Linked DNA regions of Homo sapiens: all the other regions are linked to region 6. The links are contacts of gene promoters, found by promoter capture Hi-C in blood cells and fetal thymus (Javierre and others, 2016). All regions are on one chromosome and are shown on one strand. The core of a region is centred on a gene start or on the middle of the fragment in contact, and the rest is flanking DNA. Distances in the headings are between cores, read along the strand shown. Region 1 overlaps SEC23IP (SEC23 interacting protein). Region 2 overlaps DENND10 (DENN domain containing 10). Region 3 overlaps GRK5 (G protein-coupled receptor kinase 5). Region 4 overlaps GRK5 (G protein-coupled receptor kinase 5). Region 5 overlaps GRK5 (G protein-coupled receptor kinase 5). Region 6 holds the start of TIAL1 (TIA1 cytotoxic granule associated RNA binding protein like 1). Region 7 overlaps GRK5 (G protein-coupled receptor kinase 5).

What was found. Contacts are between HindIII fragments. The CHiCAGO score rates a contact against its expected background, and 5 or more counts as called.
Region 1: a contact is called between a fragment that was not itself captured here and the fragment with the promoter of TIAL1 in region 6, in 1 of 17 cell types (total B cells). The highest score is 5.6, in total B cells.
Region 2: a contact is called between a fragment that was not itself captured here and the fragment with the promoter of TIAL1 in region 6, in 10 of 17 cell types (activated CD4 T cells, non-activated CD4 T cells, endothelial precursors and 7 more). The highest score is 13.4, in activated CD4 T cells.
Region 3: a contact is called between a fragment that was not itself captured here and the fragment with the promoter of TIAL1 in region 6, in 7 of 17 cell types (activated CD4 T cells, naive CD4 T cells, total CD8 T cells and 4 more). The highest score is 10.6, in activated CD4 T cells.
Region 4: a fragment that was not itself captured here is called in contact with the fragment with the promoter of TIAL1 in region 6 in 9 of 17 cell types (non-activated CD4 T cells, naive CD4 T cells, activated CD4 T cells and 6 more); the score reaches 19.7 in non-activated CD4 T cells.
Region 5: a fragment that was not itself captured here is called in contact with the fragment with the promoter of TIAL1 in region 6 in 2 of 17 cell types (naive CD4 T cells and naive CD8 T cells); the score reaches 7.9 in naive CD4 T cells.
Region 7: a contact is called between a fragment that was not itself captured here and the fragment with the promoter of TIAL1 in region 6, in 1 of 17 cell types (naive CD4 T cells). The highest score is 6.2, in naive CD4 T cells.

Annotation. Positions count from the first base shown.
Region 1 is chr10:119,920,098-119,923,564 of GRCh38, reverse strand. It overlaps SEC23IP (SEC23 interacting protein), which reads right to left. Exons shown (of 19, transcript NM_007190.4): 12 at 2,581-2,676. Among named protein-coding and RNA genes, the nearest start is that of SEC23IP, 29 kb to the right of the region's middle. RefSeq lists an enhancer at 1,571-1,740. The HindIII fragment of the contact is 1,492 bases long and covers 531-2,022 here.
Region 2 is chr10:119,113,361-119,117,152 of GRCh38, reverse strand. All of the region lies in intron 3 of DENND10 (DENN domain containing 10), which reads right to left. Among named protein-coding and RNA genes, the nearest start is that of DENND10, 11 kb to the right of the region's middle. The HindIII fragment of the contact is 2,453 bases long and covers 889-3,341 here.
Region 3 is chr10:119,263,711-119,267,208 of GRCh38, reverse strand. All of the region lies in intron 1 of GRK5 (G protein-coupled receptor kinase 5), which reads right to left. Among named protein-coding and RNA genes, the nearest start is that of GRK5-IT1, 57 kb to the right of the region's middle. The HindIII fragment of the contact is 6,203 bases long and covers 1-3,498 here.
Region 4 is chr10:119,213,661-119,217,551 of GRCh38, reverse strand. The region is part of intron 1 of GRK5 (G protein-coupled receptor kinase 5); the gene reads right to left. Among named protein-coding and RNA genes, the nearest start is that of GRK5-IT1, 7.2 kb to the right of the region's middle. The HindIII fragment of the contact is 8,317 bases long and covers 1-3,891 here.
Region 5 is chr10:119,232,711-119,236,137 of GRCh38, reverse strand. The region is part of intron 1 of GRK5 (G protein-coupled receptor kinase 5); the gene reads right to left. Among named protein-coding and RNA genes, the nearest start is that of GRK5-IT1, 26 kb to the right of the region's middle. RefSeq lists an enhancer at 505-564. The HindIII fragment of the contact is 9,362 bases long and covers 1-3,427 here.
Region 6 is chr10:119,595,571-119,599,403 of GRCh38, reverse strand. TIAL1 (TIA1 cytotoxic granule associated RNA binding protein like 1) reads left to right here and starts at 2,440. Exons shown (of 12, transcript NM_003252.4): 1 at 2,440-2,970. The coding sequence starts at 2,939. LOC105378512 (a long non-coding RNA gene) reads right to left here. Exons shown (of 2, transcript XR_946358.3): 1 at 3,412-3,833; 2 at 1-2,790. RefSeq lists enhancers at 1,228-1,317, 1,213-2,210, 2,208-2,797, 2,211-3,209 and silencers at 2,808-2,917, 3,328-3,427. The HindIII fragment of the contact is 6,118 bases long and covers 1-3,732 here.
Region 7 is chr10:119,280,399-119,284,030 of GRCh38, reverse strand. All of the region lies in intron 1 of GRK5 (G protein-coupled receptor kinase 5), which reads right to left. Among named protein-coding and RNA genes, the nearest start is that of GRK5-AS1, 57 kb to the left of the region's middle. RefSeq lists an enhancer at 2,437-2,937. The HindIII fragment of the contact is 8,364 bases long and covers 1-3,632 here.

The sequences.
Region 1 (3,467 bases), core at 27-2,526, 330 kb before region 6:
AAAAAAAAAAACGGAACCAACATATACATACTTGACTATCAATATCCCCAACACTAGAAACAATTCCTTTTCAAATGAAAATTACTAAGATGCTTTAAAAAGAAAAAAAAAGCACACAGTCACAAATATCACAAATATTTGATCTCCTTGTTATAAAATAATCGCTAATTTTGGTCCCATTATTTCAGTTACAGTAAATCAACAGGACACACCATATTACTTTTGTATTGATCTAGTAGCACCTTGTTATCTGTAAGAAGTGTAAAGCAATCAATGGCAACTCAGCTGAGAAAGTTTCATGGTTCATCCAAAGGCAATTACCTTTTAATTTAAAAAATAAGATCACTCTATAGATTTTTGCTCATTTCAAAACATTCTTATAATGCCATAATTTATATATCTAAGCAACTGCAGTCCATAAACCAGTCTCCTTCTAGAAATTCTTCAAGAACTATAGAATCCTTTTCTACTTTTTTCCCTTTCATTACAGAATAAATTAAGAACATGGTGTAGGGCCTGAACACAAAGCTTCTCATTTCTTGTTTTTTTTGTTTTTTTTTTTATAGGCTTTTGCTTCACTGATGTATACACGGAGACAAGCATTTTTCTGTATGGAGCACGCAGCCTGTATACAGAAACAACACTGACATGCTTGTGTCCTAGTCTCAGTTTGACTATTGTGCTCATCAGAGACAAAAGCCTGGGGATCTACTCACAGGGTTGTTGTGAGGCTCAGGTGAGATGAAAAGCTCTTTGTAAATTGGAATTACAGAACGATTCAACACACAAGAAAAATGACATGAAAGATACCTCTTAACTGCCAAAACTAATAACCTTTCTCAGCACTTAATCAAATACTGCTTGTCTATGTCTAAAATGTCTTTTGAGTTGCTCCCTTCCTCTCCACCTCCTACCTTATACCCCTATCATCTCTCTTTCAGTCACTGTACAATTACAATTACTACTATGTAAGATTGCAGCCGCCTCCACTTCACGCCTTTCCAACTTCATCTGTGCACTGTGACCAAGCAAACTCTCCACAGTCCAAAAGTTAAAATTAAAATTTAGACTACACAGATGATTTGGTGCTAAATCATAACTTGTGATAGAATAAGCAGGTCAGCATTTTGTAATGTTTAAAAACACCATGACTTTCATGGCCATAAGAACATGTTTGAAAACCACTCCCTTACAAGAGAAAATCCAAGCCTCCACACCTGCCACCTGGGCCTTTGGAACCCTCTGCCCTTCCCAGTTTCCAGCTTCCCTGATGCTACAGGAAAACACATGCCAGATTCCAGAAGGCCATCTCCCCTGACCTTACCCCTCCTTCAAGCTCAAGCACCATCACCTTGGAGAAGTCTTCTCTCACCAACCCCATGCTTGTCTCAACAAGCCAGAACTGCCACCTCTCATCTGCCTCAGGACAGCACACACAGCACGCTATTATGGGGCTGGTATGTTGTCATTTGAGCTCAACGTGCTCCCCGCAACTAGACAGCACACTCTTGGTTAATCTCCGGCTCCCAAGAATTGAACACAGTGCCTGACTCAAAAGAGGTAGCTGCTATTCAATAAAATGCTGAGAAGACTCAATTCCTTAAGCTAACCATTAAAAAAAAAATCAGTCCTATGACTTTATAGTCATTTCCCATATAAAGAAATGATGTAGGTTAAGTTCCAAACAGGTAGTAAAATAATAGAACCATAGAAATTCAAAAGATGGAAGGATCATCAAAGAGCATGTTAATAACAATACAAATAAGACGGCCACCCTAAGAGTCATCTAATTTTTCTAATTAGAAAACCTCTGTAAAATTAATTTGATCAATAAATTAAAATTAATAAAACAAGTATATTTTCCAGTTGTTCTAGTTTTAAATGCTTTTTAGCTGTTGCCTTGTTTTGTATTGTTAACAATTTTTGCTGTTTAGTGTTTAAGACTTCAGTGTGTATGTTTTTCCTCATCTCTTTAGATGGTAAGGACTGGGAAGAAAGTGAGCTATTACTTGGTGCTAAGCTTTGCATGCATTATTTCATGCTTACTCCAATCCTGTAAGGAAGGTATTATTCCATTTTAGAAATGAAGAAAACAAAGGATCAGAAAAATTAAGAAAATCACTCATGATCAGAAGGCTGAGGCGGGAGGATAGCTTGAGCCCAGGAGTTTGAGACCAGCAGTGGGAAACACAGCAAGATCCCATCTCAAAATAAACAAATGAATAAAACCAAATACAAATTGCTCATTAATACGCAGTTAATGAGCAGTTGAGCTGAGAATTTATTTGTCAGAACTTAACCACTGTTTGCACCAGGAAAACCTTAAATATCCATTTTAAAACTGAAAGCCCTTCATCCTAGGAACTTAGTCCCAGGAAAACCAGGATGGTCACTTAGCCTAATGTGGACTTAAGCCCAACTCTGACTCCTAAGTCTGGGTTTCCATCAGCTCCATTACTGTGCCCTAGGTAGGGAGCAAACTAGCTTACCTAACCATAGTAGTATTAAAATTTTCTATAATATAAACGAGCTGGTCACACCATGAGTTTTAGTTTTTCTTGAGTCAGAGGTGAACTTTACCAGTTTGGCTGCTTTATGTTCTACAAAGTTAGCTATCTTCTTTCTGGGTCCAAGGGGTATCCCCATTTCCTTCAGGTCATCAACTGTACACATAAGCTTTAAAAGGAAACAGACAAGCACATTAATCAATCTAGTGATAGAAGAACTGAAATGAGAATATGAAAATTATAAAGAAACCACATCATCTAAAGCAATCTAAGAGCCACTCAACTTTTTACAAGTTAGTTATTTTGTATTTAAATCATGCATCAGTTTAGGCTATAAAATCTTAGGCTTCCACACCTAAATCATTCTATTAATTAACAGAAAATACACATATGGTATACAAAATTCCAAAGCTATAGTCAAGCATACGATGAAATATCTTCCTCCCACTGCTGTCCCAAACATAGAATTCTCCTCTCAGCGCAACTGTGGAAACTTGCTCTCTTTGAAGCGATGTCTTATGTATGCATAGCACTTACATGTTTTTCTCTGTGTGTGTGCTCTACTATGCACACAGTAATGAACTCTGCTCTCTTCATGTAAATGTACCTTAGAGACGGGTATCTCTGACACTGCATCATTCATTCAACAGCTGTAGGGTACTCCGTTATGCGGATGCACCATAAATGATTTCACTAGCACCCTACTCCTCAACACCAATGGTGTCTCTAATGTTTTGTTACCTTGCAAACACTGCTGTGAGTATCCTTGTAGATAATTCTTGTTTGAATATTTCTCTATAGGAAATATTCCTGGCAATGAAACTGATGAAGCAAAGGGTAATTTTTATATTCTTAAAGATATTGCCAAACTGCCTTCCAAAGAGTTTGTAATATTTTACAGTCTGACCAACAATATATAACAATGCCTAGTTCCCTTCACCCTGGCCACATAGCATATTT
Region 2 (3,792 bases), core at 866-3,365, 480 kb after region 6:
TAATCCGCCCACCTCAGCCTCCTAAAGTGCTGGGATTACAGCTGCACTTACTGCACTTACTGCTGAGTTACTGCGCTTGGCCTGAATGCTTGAATCTTTTCATGTAGAAAGTAGTATTACTTTCAAGTAGCATCATTTCTCTCTAAATTAAAAATATATTTCAAAGAAAAAGCAGCCGGGCGCAGTGGCTCATGCCTGTAATCCTAGCACTTTGGGAGGGCAAAGCAGGCGAATCACCTGAGGTCAGAAGTTGGAGACCAGCCTGGCCAACATGGCAAAACCTCACCTCTACTAAAAATACCAAAAAAAAAAAAAAATTAGCCAGGTGTGGCAGTACATGCCTGTAATCCCAGCTACTCAGGAGGCTGAGGCAGGATTGTCGCTTGAACCAGGGAGGCAGAGGTTACAATGAGCCGAGATTGCACCACTGCATTCCAGCCTGGTCAACAGAGCAAGATTCTGTCTCAAAAAAAAAAAAAAAAAAAAAGAAAGAAAGAAAGAAAAGAAAAAGCTTGAGAGACCTTCAACAATTCTTTGGACTCAGCCATCTCCTTACATCTGGGAGCCCCTTGTTGTACTAAGGCAGGAGAATGAAGTACGAACTTCCTGAGGTCCCAGGATTCTCAAGAATGTTGTGCACTTATCCTGTGTCTTACATTCACAACTGGGGTTCTCAGTCATACAACTCTGTTTTATCACTGAGATTTCCTTTGACGAGAAAGGAGTTTTACGCACTGTTCACAGAGAAACCAGTAATTAGTTGTAGAACCCATACTTATTATTAAATGAGTTCCCAGAGGTAGCTATATTTAGATAATTAAGAAATCAAAACTCCTTTAGGTTTCTGGTGATAAATGCACATTAGACATTCATCGTCAAGTTAAAGCTTCTAGAAAATGCTGACAGGAAACTGGCTGCATTTATAGCTCACATGTGGAATCCGTCTCTTCCCCTTGAAATCTCTTCCTGTGAGCAACTAAAATTAAATTTTGCTTGAGAAACATGACTGGGTCTATTTGGGCCTTTCAGGAGCTGGTGGGATAGAAAATCGGGAAGAAAATAAAACATATTTAAGACAGATCACTTGAGGGCCGGGCACAGTGACTCATGCCTGTAATCACGGCACTTTGGGAGGCCAAGGTGGGCGGATCACTTGAGGCCAGGAGTTAGAGACCAGCCCGGGCAACACGGTGAAACGCTGTCTCTACTAAAAATATAAAAATTAGCTGGGCCTGGTGGCTCACACCTGTAATCCCAGCTACTTGGGAGGCTGAGGCAGAAGAATTGCTTGAACCCAGGAAGAGGAGGTTGCAGTGAGTCAAGATCACACCACTGCACTCCAGCCTGGGCAACAGAGCGAGATTCCGTCTCAAAAAAAAAAAAAAAAAGATCACTTGAAAATTATATTTATCATAGACTAAATGAAAAAAGCAAGTGTTTTAACTGCTTGCCAACTTTTGTCAATCATCAGTGTTTTTTTAAAAATTACCAATTCCAGCACTTTGGGAGGCCGAGGCGGGCGGATCACGAGGTCAGGAGATCGAGACCATCCCGGCTAAAACGGTGAAACCCCGTCTCTACTAAAAATACAAAAAAAATTAGCCGGGCGTAGTGGCGGGCGCCTGTCGTCCCAGCTACTTGGGAGGCTGAGGCAGGAGAATGGCGTGAACCCGGGAGGCGGAGCTTGCAGTGAGCCGAGATCCCGCCACTGCACTCCAGCCTGGGCGACAGAGCGAGACTCCGTCTCAAAAAAAAAAAAAAAAAAAAAAATTACCAATTCAATTCACAACTTGACGGAAAAAAAGTAGAGAACAATGAATGTGGTGAGCTTTCACACATGTAAAATACATTCAAACCCAGGAACTCACACACAGGCTCACACAGGGAGAAAAACTTCTCTGATAGGATATAAAGAAGGAGGTCACGGGAGTTGTGTGGGGTGGGGATCAGGAGGTAGAACTGGAGTCTGGGAACAGGAGGAGGCGGCAGCTCAGTTTTCACTGCATATTCTCCTGTGTTTCTAAATGTGCTTTATTACTACCAACAACAAAAAACCAAAATGCCATTAGCTTTCTAAAATAGAGGCCAAGCACTGTGGCTCATGCTTATAATCTCTACACTCTAGGAGGCCGAGGCAAGAGGCTCACTTTAGGCCAGGAGTTCCAGACAAGCCTGGTGAACATGGTGAAACCCCGTCTCTACTAAAAATATAAAAATTAGCCAGGTGTGGTGGTGTGCACCTGTAATTCCCACTACTTGGGAGGCTGCAGCACAAGAATCACTTAAACCCATGAGTTGGAGGTGGTAGTGAGCCGAGGTGGCGCCACTGCATTCCAGCCTGGGTGACAGAGTGAAACTCTATCTCAAAAAAAAAAAAATTATAAAATAGAAACAATACACAGTAATAGAGAAGAGAAACATAAGGTTGGTAGGATAAGATGACTTCCTACATGACAACCCTGGGCCAGGAGAGATAAAACAGAGGGGGAAATCCCCCCAAAACCACTCCACAGGAAAAGCCCACAGTGCGACCCCAAGCACCTTGTTCAGATAGACATCCATAGGCTGCCACACATCGAGGCCTGTACAGCTGACTGCAAGTGTGCATGAAACCCCGGTTCTCTAGCAGGGCCACTAGCAGCAAGCGACTAGAGGCTGAAGAGGACCACAGCAGTGAACCTGCAGCCACATAGGGAATGAGGTTCCCTCCTGCGGGCTTCTGCTGCCACTGTGAGCAGCAAGCTGTGTGTGGAAGGCACGCCTGCCTGCTCCTCACCAGAAATGGAGGGAGGCAACTCCATGTTAAACTGTCATGAAGAAAAGAAGTCTTTGCCTATGAGTGTGTGCATGTACACACAGACCTGTGTGTGTGTGTGTGTGTGTGTGTGCAAATACTTGGATGTGCATACATGCAAGAGTGAGCATAGTGCTGCATGAAGGGGCAGGAAGCAGAGGAGGCGGCTGGCAGTAGCTCCGAGTCCTCACTTCTCTTGCACTGTGACGGGAGAAGAAATCCAGGATACTACAATGCCACGCACTGCACAAGCTGAGAAACCCTCTGGGCCTCCTTCTGGGCAGGAAGTGGGGTCTGAAGCAACCTTGCCTTTTGGACTCCAGAATATTTCCCAGTGAATTCAGTTGAGCAACATAACCCTGACTCAACCAAATGAAATGGGAGTCCAATGTTTGTTCAAAAATACCTCTGTAGTGTTTTTAGTTTATGGCTTCTGGATAGCGTCTTTTCTGGCAATAATAATCTCCCTTTGTGTAAGTGCCACATTAGCAGACAACTGTTTATCCACAGTGAGACATTCACCTGGTTCTTATGAGAGTAGGAAGCTTTTTTATTCTGGCTGGTTGCAAAAATGGTGAAATCTCATTTAGCCAAGATATAATCTAACTGAAACCCTTAGGTAATGAGAAGATAGTCTTATGATAGAGTTTTTCTCTTTTTTTTTTTTTGCTTCTTTTGGTGTGTGTATATACATTCACGCACAAAAATAGCCAAAAGCCTACCATTTATTAGGCTTATAAAACAAAAACAATTCCCTTCACCCTCAGTGCCCCCAAAAATCTCTGTATTAGGGAAAAGCCTGACGGTAACATGACACCTAGAATTATAATTCTATCTAGTAACAACATTTTTTTTTTTAAAGGGCTAGGTGCAGTGGCTCACGTTTGTAATCTCAGCGCTTTGAAAAGCCAAGGCAGAGGATCACTTGACCCCAGGAGTTCAAGACCAGCCTGGGCAACATAGTAAGACCACCTTTCTACAAAATATATATATATTTT
Region 3 (3,498 bases), core at 823-3,322, 330 kb after region 6:
TGCAATGGTGTGATCTCGGCTCGCTGCAACCTCCGCCTCGCAGGTTCAAGCAATTCTCCTTCCTCAGCATCCTGAGTAGCTGAGATTACAGGCGCCCGCCACCATGCCTGGCTAATTTTTGTATTTTTAGTAGAGATGGGGTTTCTCCATGTTGGTCAGGCTGGTTAGAACTCCCGACCTCAGGTGATCCGCGCACCTCGGCCTCCCAAAGTGCTGGGATTACAGGCATGAGTCACCGCTCCCAGCCCTACAAAAATAATTTTTTAATTAACTGGGCATGGTGGCACACGCCTGCAGTGCTAGCTACTCAGGAGGCTGAGGCAGAAGAATCACTTGAGCCCAGGAGTTCAAGGCTGCAGTGGGCTGTGATCACAGCACTGCACTCCAGCCTGGGCAACAGAGCAAGACCCTGTCTCCATAAAAAAAAAAAAAAAACTCTTCCCCCCCACCCACCCAACCCCAGCAAATGGCCAAATCCAAGCCTAGTGGGAAATCAGCAGAAGCAATAAGAAAAAGCAGTGAAAGCCTCCTTGACTCCATGAAGAATCCACCTTCCCCGCTTCCTCCTCCAGCCACAGGATTAGACAGCGGGTTCCCTTGGCCAGCCCCACCGGCTTCACTACTTAAACTTCCTCACCCTTGAAAACACCCAAGTTATGAAGGGAAGGAAAAGCCCATTGGAAGGTAGCTGGGTGTTTGGGAAGGGCTCTTCTTGATAACAACCAGCATCATTTCTTTTTTTTTTTGAGACGGAGTCTAGCTCTGTTGCCCAGGCTGGAGTGCAGCGGCGCCATCTCGGCTCACTGCTCACTGCAACCTCCACCTCCTGGGTTCAAGCGTTCTCCCGTCTCAGCCTCCCGAGTAGCTGGGATTACAAGCATGAGCACCATCATGCCTGGCTAATGCTTGTGTTTTTATAGATACTGGGTTTCACCATGTTGGCCAGGCTGGTCTCGAACTCCTGACCTCAGGTGATCTGCCCACCTCGGCCTCCCAAAGTGCTGCGATTACAGGTGTGAGCCTTCGCGCCCATCCAGCCAGCATCGTTCCTAAAATAGGTAAAGAAATCAGACTGCACAGTCCAGGCCTGCAGCTTCCTCCAGTAAACTCCCCAAGACAATGGGCACAACCTCAGGACAGCCTTCTGGGGGAGGCCACAGATGCCCTCTGTCTCCTGGTAGCCTTAGGTTCAGCTGAAGGGATGGGGGTCCTCAGAGAACCTCTCTGTTAGTGGGGCCCAAAGAGGGAACCGAGGCAGCTCAGTCCATGACAGCAGGACCCAACGCAGATCCCAGGGCCCGGACTTCAGCCCCAGGCAGGGACCCACTCCTGAGCAGCCATAGAGGTCTCCTGGCATTGAGTGCGGCTGAGAGGGCGTGTGGCCAGTGGTTCTGGACAAGAACCTGCAGGGCCCAGGGTTTCCCTGGAGGCTCCAAAATGCCTGGAAATATGCATACGCCCTTCCAGAGGAGGACTACTTGCTTTTAGTACAGTGGAGCCCAGGCACTCACTCCAATGGAGGTTGAGAACTCCGACTGTACTGATCAGCTCAGGCTGCCATAGACTGGGTGGCTGAAACAGCAGGAATTCATTGCCCGTGAGTCTAAAAGTTAGGAAGTCCAATATCTAGGTGCTGGCCCATTTGGTTCCTCAGTGCAGGCCACCTTCTTACTGCGTCCTCATGTGGTAGAGAGAGCGAGCTCTGGTCTCTCTTCTTCTTCTTCTAAAGGCACTAATCCCATCATGGAGGCCCCATCCTCATGACCTCATCTTAACCGACTCACCTCCCAGAGGCCCCACCTCACACTGGGGGTTAGGGCTTCAACAAATGAATTGTGTGGGCACAAAAACATTAGGCCCATAGCACCAACTTTAGGTCAACATCCTTGATCTGCCACTCACCTGCGGGGGGGCCTCAGCAAAGGCTTTCTCTACCCTGAGCCTCAGTTTCCCCATCTGTAAAAGAGGCTGGTAATACCTGACTCAGAAAGGAATTAACAAGATAAAAACTAACGAACAGAAAGCAAGGAGGACAGAGTCCAGCACCTGAGCAGGCCCCCAAAATTAAAGGCTGGTGGGGAGCACTTTGAGATAACAAACATGAACTTGATTCATGTGGGAAGGCTGCTGGGTTCCTGGCAATACAGGTTAAGATGAGGCAAGGCTGCTGCCTGTCCAAAGAGGCCGCTGTGAGCCCCAACCAGCTCAGCACGGAGTAACACAAAAGAATGAAAGCTGTCTCTGAGTCGGCCTTCCCAACAGGACACTGAGCTCCCAGGGACAGGTCTGTGCCTTGCTCTATGGACCTTAGTTTTCTGAACAAATGATTCTCATTGGTCAGATGACAGTGAGGCACGTCATGCCAAGGCTACTCAGGGCACCCTGGCCAGGAGGAAAAGGGAGTGGGCAGGGCATGTAGTGGGTAAGTGTGGTTTTAGTCCACCCAGGGTCCCTCCCACTGCTGAAGAATAGTCCTACCCCACTTACAATGCCAGGCTGCTGATCAGGGCCCTGCTACCCACACAGGACTCAGATCTCACGAAGCACAGAACGTGAACCCCTGTCCATGACGATCAATTTCAGATGTGTACACAAAACCCAAGCCCCGATGAGAATCATGCCTTGATGATGTTTGACATACAGCTGCTGGGAGAGGTGGTCTTTCTTGCTGAGGGATAGCTAACTTTAAGGACACACAGCCACTGGCCATCTTTATCGTCATGGGGAGAAGGATGAGCGGTAGTAGGAGAGAGAGGCCAACACTCAGAAAGCAGCAGAGCCAAGAGCTGTAGGAAGCAGGAGGCAGGAAACAGAGAAGGACAAACACCAGATGGTAGGACTTGAGCCCCACCCAGGACTCAACTTCCCAAGCACATGTGCCAACAAATGCCCTGGAGGTTTTTGTTTATTTGTTTTGCTTAAGCTAGTTGGAGTTGAGCTTCTGTCACCTGTAATGGAAAGAGATCTGCCTAATGACAGTCACCTTGCTGGAACTGAGCAGAACCAGGCTGCAAAATTACACAGAAACAAGTTGCAAATGTCAATGGAGAGCATTCAAGGTGGCATGCAAGCACGTGGCTCATTTTGATAACAAATATAGACTCTCTTGAGGAGCATCACATTTGAGAAAAGTCATGCTGAGAACCTCTCTCCAATCTGCCTCCTGCCTGCCATCTGTCTTCTCTTGCAGAATGTGTGTCAGGGAAAAGGAAAAGACCCACAATTAGTTATCAACAAGGTTTTATTTTTTTATTTTGTTTTATTATTATTATTATTATTTTGAGACGGAGTCTTGCTCTGTCACCCAGGCTGGAGTGCAGTGGCACGATCTCAGCTCACTGCAAGCTCTCCCTCCTGGGTTCATGCCATTCTCCTCCCTCAGTCTCCTGAGTAGCTGGGACTATACAGGCGCCCGCCACCACGCCCGGCTAATTTTTTTGTATTTTTTAAGTAGAGATGGGGTTTCACCATGTTAGCCAGTACGGTCTCGATCTTCTG
Region 4 (3,891 bases), core at 114-2,613, 380 kb after region 6:
AACGCAAGAGGCTGGCCTCGCTTGTCCGATGTGTTGGTAGGAGGGGCCCAGGCAGCGAGAGAGTACAGGTAATGGGCCTCCACAGGCGATCATACCACATACGTACACATGTGCTTATGTGTGTACAGGCACTTATGTATGGCATGTAGGCATCCTGCCTTGTCCTCAAACACAGATTCAGTTGTATTGATACACAGTTCTACTTTTAAAATGGAAACATCTACTTTGAGGATTCACCTATCAGTCATTTACAACCTAGTAGGAATTAATTTACCCAACTGCTCTCAAACTGGCCCTCAGCTGAAATCACGGTCTGAGACAGAAATTATATTCCCAATTTGCCCCTTTTCCCAGGGAATCTGACAAAGACACTCTTTCTCTTCCACAATTACAACCTCATGGGTATTTACACTTAAAAACCCTACCATCTCGAGAAGAGTTTGTTGTTTTGGCATATATTATGAGAGGAAGGAAGAAAGATTTATTTTGGAACATAAAAGCACTTTGGAGGATAGGGGAGATCCACTTGCAATTGCTCCCCAAAAGTCCACAGTTCAAGTGACCTTGAACAAGTGACTCCCTTTTTTTATTTTTATGTTTTTTTTTAAATTATTATTTTACCTTTTAGACGGAGTTTCGCTGTTACCCAGGCTGGAGTGCAGTGGCACTCCCAGGTTCAAACAATTCTCCTGCCTCAGTCTCCCAAGTAGCTGGGATTATTATAGGCACCCACCACCACATCCAGGTAATTTTGTATTTTTAGTAGAGATGGGTTTTCACCACGGTGGTCAGGCTGATCTTGAACTCCTGACCGCAAGTGATCCACACACCTTGGCCTCCCAAAGTGCTGGGATTACAGGCGTGAGCCACCACGCCTGGCCATTTTTATTTATTTTTTATTTTTTGTAGAGATAGGGGTCTTGCTATGCTGCCCACGCTGGTCTTGAACTCCTGGCCTCAAGCAATCCTCCTGCCTCAGCCTCCCAAAATGCTGGGATTACAGGCGTGAGCCACTGCACCCGGCCCTGACTCCCTTTCTTTCATCTCAGTTTCCCCATCCGTTAAACCAAGGGTAACCTCTATGCCGGAAACAGAGGACAGGGCAGCAGATCAGCTGAGAAGGCTCAGGGAAGCCGAGGCACCAGTGGCCCTGTGGCCTCTGCCACTTCAGGACAGAGGCATGTTCTTATCTGTTTATCTCAGCTTATCTGTTTACCCTTGCTTTCTGCACAGGCCCCAGAAGCTGTCCTTGGGGTTCATTTCATCATTACCTTTTTAAAAAAATTTTTGATATTCCACAGATTACAAGTTCTTAGAAACACAGTAGGCCCTATCAAAACTGGCCTAGTTTAGGAGGATGTCACCAGTTGACTCTGGTACGTCAGATAGACTCCCTTGCTTCGGACACCAGGGAACAAGCAATGAACTGTTTTATTGTTTCAAACACTTTCTTTCTAAGTGTGCTCTGAGTTATTGTTAAAATGTTTCAAATCTCACAAGAAACAGTTTTTAAGGAGAAAACCATTTTCAAGTGGATACAAGAACAGTGAGTTTCTTTGGCATCTTTAAGTATACCTTCTTCCTGATGTCTTCCCAGCTCAGAAAAAATGAAAACCCTTAAAATGGTTTTGCCTGTCTTCACCCCCATTTTAGATCACCTGCCTGTGGAGGTTTCTTTCTATTCTTTCTGTAGATCTGCCGCACTTATGCAACTTAATTGTTTTTTTAAATAAAATGACTGCTTTAAAATAGCCCCACATTAAGAATTTCAAGAAGGAACATGGGGCTCTGTATGTATCTATATCATGCACTTAATTTGAATCAGGAAAGTCAGTTGCTCAATTTAGGCAAATTTCCCAACAAGATATTGAAAAAGGGGGTGGGGGAGGATATGGTAGCTTAACCCCCTCCACCCCCGCCACCATCCATGATTGTCCCTGACCTGAATTTCCTCTTAGGTGAGTCAGTCCCAACTCCCAACCCCTGCCTTCACCCCTCCTCCATGGTGCAGCCCCCTCCCCTTCCTCAGTCTCTTCCTCACTCTCCGCACCCCCTTCCCTATTTTCTCCTTCTCCTACCCATTTCCCCCTCTCATCTCTCCTTCTCCCCCTCCTCCACACTGTCTCTCTCCCCAACTCCCTGCCTCCCTCTGCTTCTTTTAATTTTCCCTAATTTTTCATGTCAGAAGTCATGGGGTTATCACACTCACTAAATGCACAGAATCCTCTAGAGAAGCTCTGTCCCGATGAGCTTTCTGCAATGATGGGAATGTTCTATATGCATGGCCCAATACAATGGCCACTAGCCACACATGGCTACTGAGCACTAGACATGTGGTTTGCATGCTTCAGGAACATAATTCCTAACTTTAATTAATTTAAGTATAAATAACAACATACAGCTAGTGGCTACTACGTTGAACAGAGCCCCTGAAGAGGAACAGGTACCTTTAATCTTTTCGGTCATTCCCTGTGACAGGCTATGTCAAAGGACATACCCAGGCCAATCCCAACAGAAAGCCAGAAAAGAATGCAGCCTCCACCGTCTTCACTCCAGAACTGCAGCCCGTCTACCCGCCCAGGCCTCTGCCCTGAACACCTGCTCTGCCTGGAAGGCGCCATGGCACACCAGTTTTCCTCTTGGATCTTGTCATTCCTCAACCAAAGGGTCTTCTTGCCATTGTTTTTAATGGTTTCCATTTCTAGGAACAGACCTTCATAAAAACAGTGTTGGCCGGGCGTGGTGGCTCACACCTGTAGTCCCAACATTTTGGGAGGCCAAGGTGGATGGATTGCTTGAGCCCAGGAGTTTAGAGACCAACCTGGGCAACAGGGCGAAACCCCATCTCTACAAAAAATACAAAAATTAGCCAGGCATGTTGGCACGAGCCTATAGTCCCAGCTACTCAGGAGGCTGAGGTGGGAGGATCACTTGAGCCCAGGAGGTCGAAGTTGCAGTGAGCTGAGATGGCACCACTGCACTACAGACTGGGTGACAGCAAGACCCTGTCTCAAAAAACAAAACAAAACAAAAACCCCTCAGTGCCCCAGAAAATTAGCAGTTGTCTTCCAGATTCAGGTCTATCCCTCAAGTATAACCTTTTAATTATGCTTAAATCACATACTGGTCCCTCAGGCCATTGTCCAAATTCTAGGCACAGTAGAGTCAATGCAGTCTACACAGCTAAGGAGGTCACACCCCAGTCAGCCTCAGCTCTTCGGGGAAAAAAATCCAGTTCTGTTCACACCTAGTTGATCAGTTAAAAAACATCAAAAGAGACTGAGTGCAGTGGCTCATGCCTGTAATCCCAGCACTTTGAGAGGCCAAGGCAGGCAGATCACCTGAGGCCAGGAGTTTGAGACCAGCCTGGCCAACATGGCGAAACCCCGCCTCTACTAAAAATACAAAAATTAGCCAGGCTTGATGGTGGGCGCCTGTAATCCCAGCTACTCAGGAGGCTGAGGCAGGAGAATCGCTTGAACCTGGGAGGCAGAGGTTGCAGTGAGCCCAGACTGCGCCACTGCAGTCTAGCCTGCGCGACAGAGCAGACTCTGTCTCAAAACAAAACAAAAAACAAACAAAAAAACATGTAAAAAGAGAACGGCAGTGCCCAATTGCATCTTTTCAGTCATTTCACATTGTATTATCTGAGGCTGACACCCGAATGTCACCTCCGCACTGGGTCCTTCAACAACCAAATGCTGAACAAATAAATTTTACTCTTGTAAGATTTTCAGAAGCCTATTCAAGAATGGTTTCCTCAAAATGAGAAGCAGGGGTGGGGGAAGGGTCCAGTCAGGAAGTAAGGACTTTCTCTTTTAAAAGCAGCACAGTTTTCACAAAATGAAATGCTTCTTCCAGTTTTTGGATGGTAATAAAAGGAATGACATT
Region 5 (3,427 bases), core at 486-2,985, 360 kb after region 6:
TCCCAAAGTGCTGAGATTACAGGACAATAAGGAGCCCACTGCAACCTGGGCCCTGGCACTATTTGGCACCGTTAATATCTGCACAAGAGAACACAGTCCAGCAGCAGCAGCCACGGTCTAAGGGATGGGGGACAGCCAGGCATGGGAATGGGTATATGGCCCAAGAGAGGCTCCACCCAGGGGTTCGGGCCCCTGAACCATCTGGAACTTGGCTGTAAACCTCCATTAGCCTTTGGTTACCTGCCAGCCCCTCAGGAATCTCCTGGGGCAGAATCCAGGTGCTCCTAAAGTCACCATTTACACAAAGTACTTATTGAGCACCTATTGTCTACAGACATACACAAAAAGAGCAATAAAAAGACACAGGCCCTGTTCCCATGAAACTGATGGGCTGTCAGTCCCCAAGTCCACCTTATTTCTCAAGTAAATCCTAAATATAACACATTTTCAAAAAGGAAAAAAAAACTGTCAGAAATTACTCAAACAGATGTCCCTGTACCTTCACGTTCAAATGATTCATGCTTTTTGTTATTGAGCCAATTCATGAGCTTCATGGAGTCTGAACAACCCGAGTGTGCCTTGTAAGGGGCCCTCAATGAAAAAACAACTGGTCCCAGACTCCCACTCTGCAGCACTTGGGACACAGCCAGCCAGCCCACAAACAGCAGTGCATTTGCTTTTCTCTTCACCGAGGAACTCATTTACATAGACTTGATGGTGTGATTTTGTTTCTAAACCTGGCTCTTTTGCTTTAACATTTTCCAATTACTTACATGCTAGTGAGTTCCAGGATATGGTTTTCCAGGGATAATAGGCAAATCAAGTTGCTATTATTCTCTGTCCACCTTGTTCCCCCTCCTGATTTGTTTCCCTAGTATAAATCTACACATGAAGAACATCACCACTGATGAAAGCCAGATTTAGAAATTACACTTATCCCAGCCTGGGCAACATGGTGAAACCGTCTCTACAAAAATAAAAAAAATAAAAAAAAATTAGCCAGTCCTGGTGGTGTGCACCTCTAGTCCCAGCTACTCAGAAGGCTGAGGTGGGAGGATCACCCAAGCCTGGGAAGGCAGAGGTTGCAGTGAGCTGAGATGGTGTCACTGCACTCCAGCCTGGGCAACAGAGTGAGACTCCATCTCAAAAAAATTAATTAATTAGGCCGGGCGTGGTAGCTCATGTCTGTAATCTCAGCACTTTGGGAGGCCGAGGCAGGCTGATCACCTGAGGTCAGGAGTTCGAGACCAGCCTGGCTAACATGGTGAAATGCTGTCTCTACTAAAAATACAAGGCGTGCACCTATAATCCCAGGTATTCGGGAGGCTGAGGCAGGACAATCACTTGAACCCAGGAGGCAGAGGTTGCAGTGAGCCGAGATCGTGCCACTGCACTCCAGCCTGGGTGACAGAGCAAGACTCTGTCTCAAAAAATAATAAGAAAAGAAAAGAAGAAAGAAAAGAAAAGAAAAAAGGGGAGGGAGAAAAGAAAAGAATAGAAAAGAAAAGGAGGGGAGGGGAAGGAGAAAAGAAAAGAAAAAATTACAGTTATCACCCATTCTTGGCTTCCAAATTAAATTTAAGACACATTATCATTTCAAATCCACCTGAAAAAAGTAACCCCCAAATGTACTTTTGCCTCCTACTGACGGTGGAACTTGGGCAAGATTCCTAAGTCTTCTGTGCCTCAGCTTCCTCGTTTATAAGATGGAATTAACCAGTTGTACTTGCCTCATAGGTTTGTGGCAGAATTGAAATAAGACATGTAGAGTAAGAATGAACTACTTTTAGTAATATTTTTTGTCAACACCAACGTGAGGAACGTGGTGGTTAAAAAAGCACAGACTCAACGGGCTGGGTTCAAACCCTGGCTCTTCCATCAACAACTGTGACCTTGGGAAAGTTTAGGAACCTCCCTGAGCTTCTGTTTTCTCATCTGTGGAATTAAGATAAAAATAATATTTACCTCCGAGGGAGGCTGTAAGGAGGTTCTGACATGCATAAGCAGTGTATTAGGTTTACAGCTATTTTGGTGATGATGAAACCAAGGCTAATGGGAGGTGGCACCCAGCCCTAGAGCAGCTGGCTATATCATACGTTCACAGATATGCCCAGGCCCCCACAAGGAAATAGATGGGGGATCAAACCAACATGTGTGTGGACAGAATCCACTTCCGGACTCACACAGCTATTGTTCCTAACACCTTGGGTTCACATTTCCATGGTGACTGGGATGTTTGTTTCCTAATCTTTCTTTGCTACAGTTGGAGTCTCACAAGGGCAGCCAGGTTAAGGATTGTATTCTTTGTGGCAAATATCAAATACACCTGGCCCTCTGCTCAAGCAAAGCCTGGGACAAAGGTGCACATCCAGCCTTCCTTGACTCAGGGGGCTGGCTCCTCCTGACCCAGGCCCCATGTCTCTGGCCTGCTGTCTTGGGTTCTTTAAGGCAGGTATCCCCTAAGGATGTGACTTTTAACCCTGAATGAGTCAGGATCCTTTGACTGTAAGTGGCAAGTCACACGTTCACCCAAACAGGAAACCAGGGGGGTACATCTGGCCCCCAGAATGGCTGGACACCAAAATGAAACAATGCAATGAGGACTCTCTCTCTCTCCCCCACCCCATCAGCCTTTGATTCAACATCGTGCTATGCCGCCTTTATTCTCAGATAGGCTGTGGCAACGGCCACCAAGAGCTCCAAGTTTCCCTCCACCAGCTTGGCAACCCCAGCAGCAGAAGAGCAGCCCTTTTGGAACCAAGAATCCCATCCCCATCCCTGAGGCCAAGCAGAGAATCAAGGCTCTGCACAGCCAGGGCTGAGTCATGTGCTCACTGATGGAACCAATGAGACATCATCTCCACCCAACCTTGTGGATTAAATACAGGGAGGAGTGGTCCCCCAAGAAAAATGGAGGTGCTGTTGCCAGAAGAAGAGGGGGTAGATGTGGGCCAGAAAAACAACAGACACCGTCTGCTCCCACATTTCTTCAAAGCTACTGCCAGGTGCTTGCCTCTGGCATGGAGGAGCCCTTCACCCTCCAAGACTTCACACTGGCCATTTGGCCACTGAGGGAGGCCCAGACCAAGCTGACACCTTTCCCCAGAGCCAGCCACATCTCCTGACTGCCCTGCAGCATCACCTGGGTGCAAATATTATAGTTTTTTATCTTTTAGCTGACACATAACTACGTATTTATGGGGTACATGGTGATGTTGCAATTCATATGATGTACAGTGATCAGATCAGGGTAATTAGCATATCTGTCATCTCAAATGTTTATCATTTATTTGTGCTAGTGTATTAGTCTCTTTTCACACTGCTGATAAAGACATACCCAGGACTGGGCAATTTACAAAAGAAAGAGGTTTCATTGGACTTTCAGTTTCACATGGCTGGGGAAGCCTCATAATCATGGTGGGAGACA
Region 6 (3,833 bases), core at 1,191-3,690:
TGAACAAAGCTGCTGTAAACATTTGTGTGCAGGTTTTTATGTAAACATGTTTTCAGCTCATTTGGGTAAGTACCTAGGCATTATGTTTAGTTTTGTAAGGAACTGACAAGCTGTCCTCCAAAGGGGCTATAACATTTTGCAGTCCTACCAGCAAAGAATGATAGTTCCTGTTGCTTTTCATACTCACCAGCACTTGGTGGTGTTAGTGTTTTGGATTTTAACCTTAATAATTTCACTGCCAGTAAACATGCCCATTTTAACCATTCTAGTTTGTAGTGGGCATATTCTTTTTACTAAGTTAAAAAAAAACTCAAATATACATGTATATACATATGATTTTTAGGACTATGTACATGTGGAATAAAACCTTGTAGAAGGAAAGCAATAAATAGTAAAGACAGGATTCAGAAAGATGGTTACCCCAAGCGAAGGCAGGGGTGTGTGTTATTGTGTGTAGGAGGTATAGCATAGATACAGATATAAACTCGTGTCATTATAACTTTTTAGTGTGGTGGGTTTGTGGCTATAATCAAAACTAAAGTAATAAAGGTGGGTGCGGTAAACTGAATAATGGTCCACCAAAGATTTCTATGTCCTAATTCCCAGAATTTGGGAATGTTATGCTAAAAGGGACTTTGCAGATGTGATTAAGAATCTTGAGATAATCTTCGCCCAAAGTAATCACAAAAGGTTCTCGTAAATGAAAAGGGGTGGCAGGAGAATCACGATGTACGTACAGAGGCAGAGAAGAAAGAAGATACTATGCTTCTTTTCTTGAAGATGGAGGATGGGGCCAAGAGCCAAGGAATGCAGGCAGCCTCTAGAAGCTGGAAAAGGCAAGGAACCAGCCCTGCCGACACCTTGATTTTAGCCCAGTGTAACTGATTTTGGACTTCTGACTTCCAGAATTGTAAGAAAATAAATTCGTGTTGTTTTAAGTATCTAAATTTGCAGTAATTTGTTACAGCATCAACAGGAAACTATCACAGCGGGCCAGGCATGGGTTAATGAATTGGATTATAATTAAATCCAGTTCTACACCTAGGTCCAATTAAAAACATAGACAAAACCTTTGAGTGGCTCCTCACTGCCTGGAAGAGAAAGCTCAAATTCCTCAGCATGAAATAGATTCTTGACAACACGGTTCTACAAGGTCCTCTCTAGCTTTAGTTCCCTTCCCCCCGCTCCCGCCCGCATCCCCAGCCCATACATTTTAGCCATGGGTCCTGGCGTCTGAGCCTTTTGTTGTTCCTACGGACTCTTATGGGGCTCAACTCCTTTGCCGTGTCTCTATGAAGTCTTTCAGGTTGAAATTTCCTCCCCTGAAAATGGACAACATAAGGGCTTGCTGCATGGTTGATTCTGCTTTCAAGATTAATGTTCAGTGGCACGCATACGCACCGCCACTTGCAGAGGTCGACATGCACTTAGTACATGTCGGCAGAAGCAACTCTTAAGCCATTACTAACCGGGGCAGTTAAGTTCTGGCAATGGGCTGAAAGATCTTTCTTCATCGCCACTCTTCACTAAGCTACAAGACCAAGTACTTTCTCCTGAAGGTACTTAGAGGAGGAAAAAAGCACACCAGGAACTGTTGTGGGGGGTGAGAAGACAAATTCTACAGGGATGCAGAGCTAGTATGAACATGGCTTCCCCTATCTTCATGCAAAACTGCGTTTCTAGCCCACATGACTGATGTCTGTAAACGCAACTTTATGTTTGTGCACGTCTCTGCCCAAGGATTTTTTTTTCTTTTAACTCCAAGAATACGGGGGGAGTTGGGCAAGTCATTATAATAGGGCTCCTCTTCTTACCCCACTATCCGATGAGACATTTGATAGGGAAACCTCTGAAACTTGTAAAGCAATTTACAAGCAGGCCACCTACTTGTATTTAACAAATAGGCTAGAAATACCTATTTGTGGGAAATCGAGTCCCCAAAACACCCCAACCCCTCCGGGTCCCCGCCAGCACAGCCTCTCTTCTGACTGTCGCGCGAAGCGGCGGTTGACTAACGCGAGCCAGCCGTTCTGATGAACACAGGAGGGCCGGACGGCCCTGCTGGCTCGGACACCACGCGGAGGGAGAGTGCTGCCTGAGCCACAGTTGAAGAAACCGCTCTCGGGCTGGACGAAGGCGGAGCAGCAGCTCAGACTGGGCCAACAGAAGAGCCTTACAATGCCTGGAGCAGTCCGAGGACAGCCCCCGGCGCGAGGAACTCTGGGACTTGTAGTTCGCTTTCCCAGACAGCGCTTTTCCCCACTTGGTCTCCCCGCCTTTCAATGTCGCTTTTATTCTTCCCTTTACCTCCCAGCCCGCCGACTTCCTGGTCGTCGCACGTCCTCACGTATGACTACACTACCCAGAAGTCTCCTCTTCACGTCCCAGCGCGGGTGGGCGCCGGCGGCTCCTCTTAACCACAGGTTCCAGAAGTCCTCTGCAGAAGTGCTTCCCTCTCTCATTTCCAGGACCACAATTCCCAGAGACTTCGGCTTCACGACGTTTCTCTTTTTGCCCGATCTCTCCCGGAGCTGGCTGGGCTTCGGCCGGCCAGAGGCCCACAGCGACGACGTGATCCGTCGTGAGCGGGTCCCAGGGTTTCCTCGGCGGCCCTTTTTTCTCTCCCCTCGGTCGTCCCCCTTGCAGGCTGTCGCGGCTGGCCTGAGCGGTGACCTGGCGGGTCGCGCCTGCGCTCTGCCCTGTTTCCTGCCTGGCTGGTGGCGGCGGCCATTTTGTTCATCCTCCTCCTCCTCCTGCTCCTCCTGGTTGGAGCGCAGTGTCCGGAGCGGGCTGGGGGGAGAGAGCCCGAGAGCAGGGTTCGGTGCCTTTTCCTCTGTCCCCAGCCGGTGCCCAGAGCCCCCCTCCCCTTCCTCCCCACCCCCTCCCCTCCCCAACCCTGCCCTCCCCCTTGTCCCGGGATCGCTCCGTCGCACCCACCATGATGGAAGACGACGGGCAGCCCCGGACTCTGTGAGTACCCGAGACGAGGGGTGCCAGGCGCCAAGAGGCCCGGGCACCGCGGGACGCTAAGGGAGGGAGCAGGAGAGACTGGGCCGAAGCCGGGACTCTAGGCGGCTCCCTGACCAGGGCGGCGTGGACGCGAAGTGCATTCCTCATCTGTCCCCTTTTCCTTGGGAAGGAAATCCTCCCTTCCCCCAAACAGTCACTTCCTGGGGTCTGGGGCTTGTCTCGACCTTTTTCTCTGGCGTCCTTCTTTGCATGCCCTCCCTAGGCCGGGTTTCTGCACGGCTGAGGCTGTCAGGCCCAGGAGAACTCCTGCACCCCCTCCGCGTTGGACGCCCTGGGCTGGGCCTGGAGCTGCCGGCGCCCACGGGGGAAGGGCCTGGCGGGGGTAGGATTGGGGGTGGGCCCGGGGGTGGGCCCCGCGGGCCCTGAGGAATTAGCACTCACCCCTTCCACGTCCTCAGCTCGAGTCGCTCCCAGCTCTTCTCCCCAGCTAAGCTCTCGGAGGAAGCAGGACACTCTTTCACCACTCAAGCCCCTTCTCTCTTTATGCCCCACGTGCCCCCGCCCACGCTGTCAGAAACACCCGCCTAGCGCCCGCTACTTTTGAAGTACATAAGGGATACCTTTTGCTGCCCGAGCATCTTTCCCTTCTTGGATAAAGAAGTTTACTTTGAGCGCTCCCTACGCTAAACTGACAACCAGTTGTTAAACTCCTTTTGCTCTCTAGGTGTTGCCTCTTCCTAATCTGTTTGTGCGTCGAAAGCTTCAGAGTTGGCTAAAATTATGTCTTCATCCGCTATTTGATGTGTGTCTTCTGAACGCTTTTTCTCCTGTCTTGCTGTTGCTTTTTACCTGAAGCTCAATCT
Region 7 (3,632 bases), core at 101-2,600, 310 kb after region 6:
AGGGGATCCGAGTACCGAAGTACACTGCCCAGAGCTGGGGAGGAATCAATGAGATCAGACAGATGTGCAGTTACCACAGTTCCTGGCTCTCGATCCATGTTGGCTGCTCTTGCTCATTCAACAGATACTTTCTATCTCCCTATGACATGCCAGGCTCTGGGGACACAAAGATGAACCTTGAAACATTCTCTTGCCAGAGTTATCCCCAATTTAGGCTTTGAAGGGCCAGGCTCACGTCTCAGCTTTGCTACTACCTATGTGACCTTGAGCAAGCCACATTTTGGGGAGTGGGGCTCATGGTCCCATCTGCAGGGTGACCCTTGATGACTCTGGGATCTCAGGGAAGCCATCAGCATTAGAAAGCAGAAGAAGGCAATGTTCCCAGAGGGCAGGTGTCTGAGCTAGCTCCACCCCAAGGCCTAGCCTCCAAGGGTACTTGCATTTTTGCCAGAGACACCATCAGCACTGGCCAGGGAATACAGAGCCCGGGCACGGGCAGGCGTTCCTGAAGCCTGGAACTCAAGGCCTCAGGAACGTGTATGTCTCACTCCTTCCCTGCAGCCTCACTCCTATGTCCTCATTTCCCAGCCTAGAAGAAGGACTTGCAGGGCTTGGAGGGGTGCAGGTTAGGGGACGAGGTGGGAATGGGGTGTGGATTCATTTTCACAGAAGCCTCAAAGTCAAATACTTCATCTCATCTCCAAATGTGACCATGTTGAGCTGCAGGGCTGGAGGACACTCCCGTCCCATCACAGGTCCACCCAGACTGAGCACACTATGAATTAATATTTCCTATAAATCCTAGCATTACCTTGTGACTAGACTAATTATATTGCTATGTTGTTTTTGGTTTAAAAAAAAAACACCATCCTGACAAAGGTTACCAGTTTAAAATACCATAATATTAATATTTATAGCTTTCTTAGGGCATTTTAATTGTTTTAATGAACTGGAAGCCTCAAAACAAAACCAAAAAACTGAAAGCAGGCCAGGCCCCTTATCAGCTCTGAAAGGCCCTGAGATGTGCCCCAACTCTGCAGCAGGACCAGGCCCCAGTGACACAGTAACTCAGGGCCTAGAGGAGGGACTGGATGGGCCAGCAGCCTGGAGAACTCCACAGCATCAACTGGGCGACTGTCACTCCTCCGGCCTCACCTAGTCCTGCTTTCTCACAAGGCCTCACCTTTAAGACAAGACATTCATGTTGGGCAGGAGAAAGCGCTCAAGAGCTTCTAGAAGCCTCCCGGAAGCCTCTGGGGCCCCCGCCAACCCTGGACTCTCCTGACAACTCCTGGGATCTCACCTCCACTCCAGGTAGTTCTGTGCCCAGCTGCTGACCACCAGAGCAGGAAGCTGTCACAGACCACCGGGGCCAACCCTTCAGGCTCTGGGGAGAAACCTGGACCCACAGGGGGCCTTGATCCATCTGCTCGATAGTCCATCTGCCCATGAGCCCATCCAGGGCCGCAGCACACGCCTCTCCTGCCCCAGCCGGAACCCGACCCTGGTCTAGGAGCTGAGGACACAGCAGTGCAGACACATCAGGTTGGTGAGGGAGACAGACAAGGAAAACAGACTGTTACAAGACAGCCTGGTGAGACGGGCTGCCAAGGAAAGGGGGAAAACTAGCAGGGGGAACAGCAGCACTGGGGCCAGAGAAGTGTCTCCCATCCCAGCAAGAGACAGCTCTGCTGCAGTCTGGAGCTCCAGGAGGAACTGGCCTGGTGAAGACCTGGGAGAATGGTCCAGGCTCAGAGAAAGGTTTGTGCAAATCTAGACTGTGAAAGAGACAGCCCAGTGCTCACTCACGATACTAAAGTAATTTAGGGCCCCAAAATGTGAGTGGGGGGAGGAGCAAGTGAAGTCAGTGGTTTGGAGAGTGCAGCTTGGGTCCGAACTCAAGGAAGAGGTGCTGTGTGAAAAGGCAAATCACAGCAGGGCACACTGGCATGGGGAGATCACACAGAAAGCGACAGTGGCCAGCAGAGCAAGAGACGCAGACCAAGGAGGGGAGGGCAAGGGACAGATGCCCAGGAGGGAGGTCACCAATGGCAATGAGAAACAGGATAGGCTCAACAGATGTCTCCAGGATTTCTGCTTGGGTGACAGGCCACTCAGGCTGTTGTCTGTGCAATGAGATCACGTCTTAGAAATAAGAGATTTAGTCTTTACCGAATCCATCTACAAAGCTAAGTAGCAGCCTGGTTCTCCATCACTGGTTCACAGCAGGGACATTCAGCCAGCTTCTCAGCCACCTCGGGGGATCGGATGACTTGATGGCCTGGCTCGGGGATGGCAGTGCTCAAGGGCACGCTTCCAAATGGGCAGGGGCCCAAGAGAAGAGGCGGCCAACCACCACCCCGGGAACCCAGGGCAACCTGCCAGCTTCAAAGGCTCAGCCGTGCTAAGACCCGAGGTCGGCCAGATCCCTCCCTGTGAAGAAGATGCCACCACAGGAGAGGCTGATTACAGAACAGTGGCTCAAATACAGGCTGTGTGGTCACAAGCATCCGCATACAAGCACCAGGGGTGAGCCGTGCACAGACATGGCCAAAATGAACGAGCCATCACCACTTCTGGGTGCTCGACACCTAATGGGAGCTCAAGAGCAGGGGAGAGGAACAGGAGAGCTCGGGGCAGAGACTGCCAACCCAGGGTAGTTAGTAAAGTAGGGTTAGGGGGGTCCCTGGCCAGACCCACAAGAACTGCTTTGGGAGCAGCCGGGAGGAGCAATTTTTTCCCAAGGAGGCAGTGAAGGCAGCATGTGCAGAGTCCCTGAGAGGAAGGTGAAGAGGTGTCCATGTGAGCAGAATGACCCAGCCCAAGCATGGAGGCAGCACATGGTGGCAAATCCATCTAGATGGAGAAGATCCTTGTGCTGGGGACAGAGTGAGAAAAGTCCTGAAAGCAATGGGCCGGCCCTGAGGCTTTACCCTGCAGAAAACGGGAAATCAGATGGGCGTGGTGGTTCATGCCTGTAATCCCAGTACTTTGGGAGGCCAAGGCGTGTGGATCATGAGGTCAGCAGTCTGAGACCAGCCTGACTAAAATGATGAAACCCCGTCTCTACTAAAAATACAAAAATTAGCTGGGCGTGGTGGCGCACGCCTGTAATCCCAGCTACTCAGGAGGGTGAGGAAGGAGAATTGCTTGAACCCGGGAGGCAGAGGTTGCAGTGAGCTGGGATTGGGCCACGGCACTCTGGCCTGGGTGACAGAGTGAGACTCTGTCTCAAAAAAAAAAAAAAAAGAAAAGGAGGGAGGGAGGGAAGGAAGGAAGGAAGGAAACAGGAAGTCATTGCCTCCAAAGCATTCTGGGAGAAAAATAATTTGGCAGTGCCTCAAAAAATTAAACACGGAATTACCATAGCATCTAGCAATTCCAATTCTAGGTATAGTCCCAAGAGAAGTGAAAACAAGGACTGGAACAGGTACTTATACACCAATATATTTCCATGCTGAGACCCCTAAAATAACAATAAAAGAATAAAACAGGTATCAACTATCCTACAAAGGCTGAGAGATGGGAGGACGAATGACAGCTGACCAGAGCCATCAGAACCACCTATGGAGGATGGCAGAGGGATGGATGGGTGGGCGCTGGCCTTGCTGGCTGGAGAGCCGACATTCACG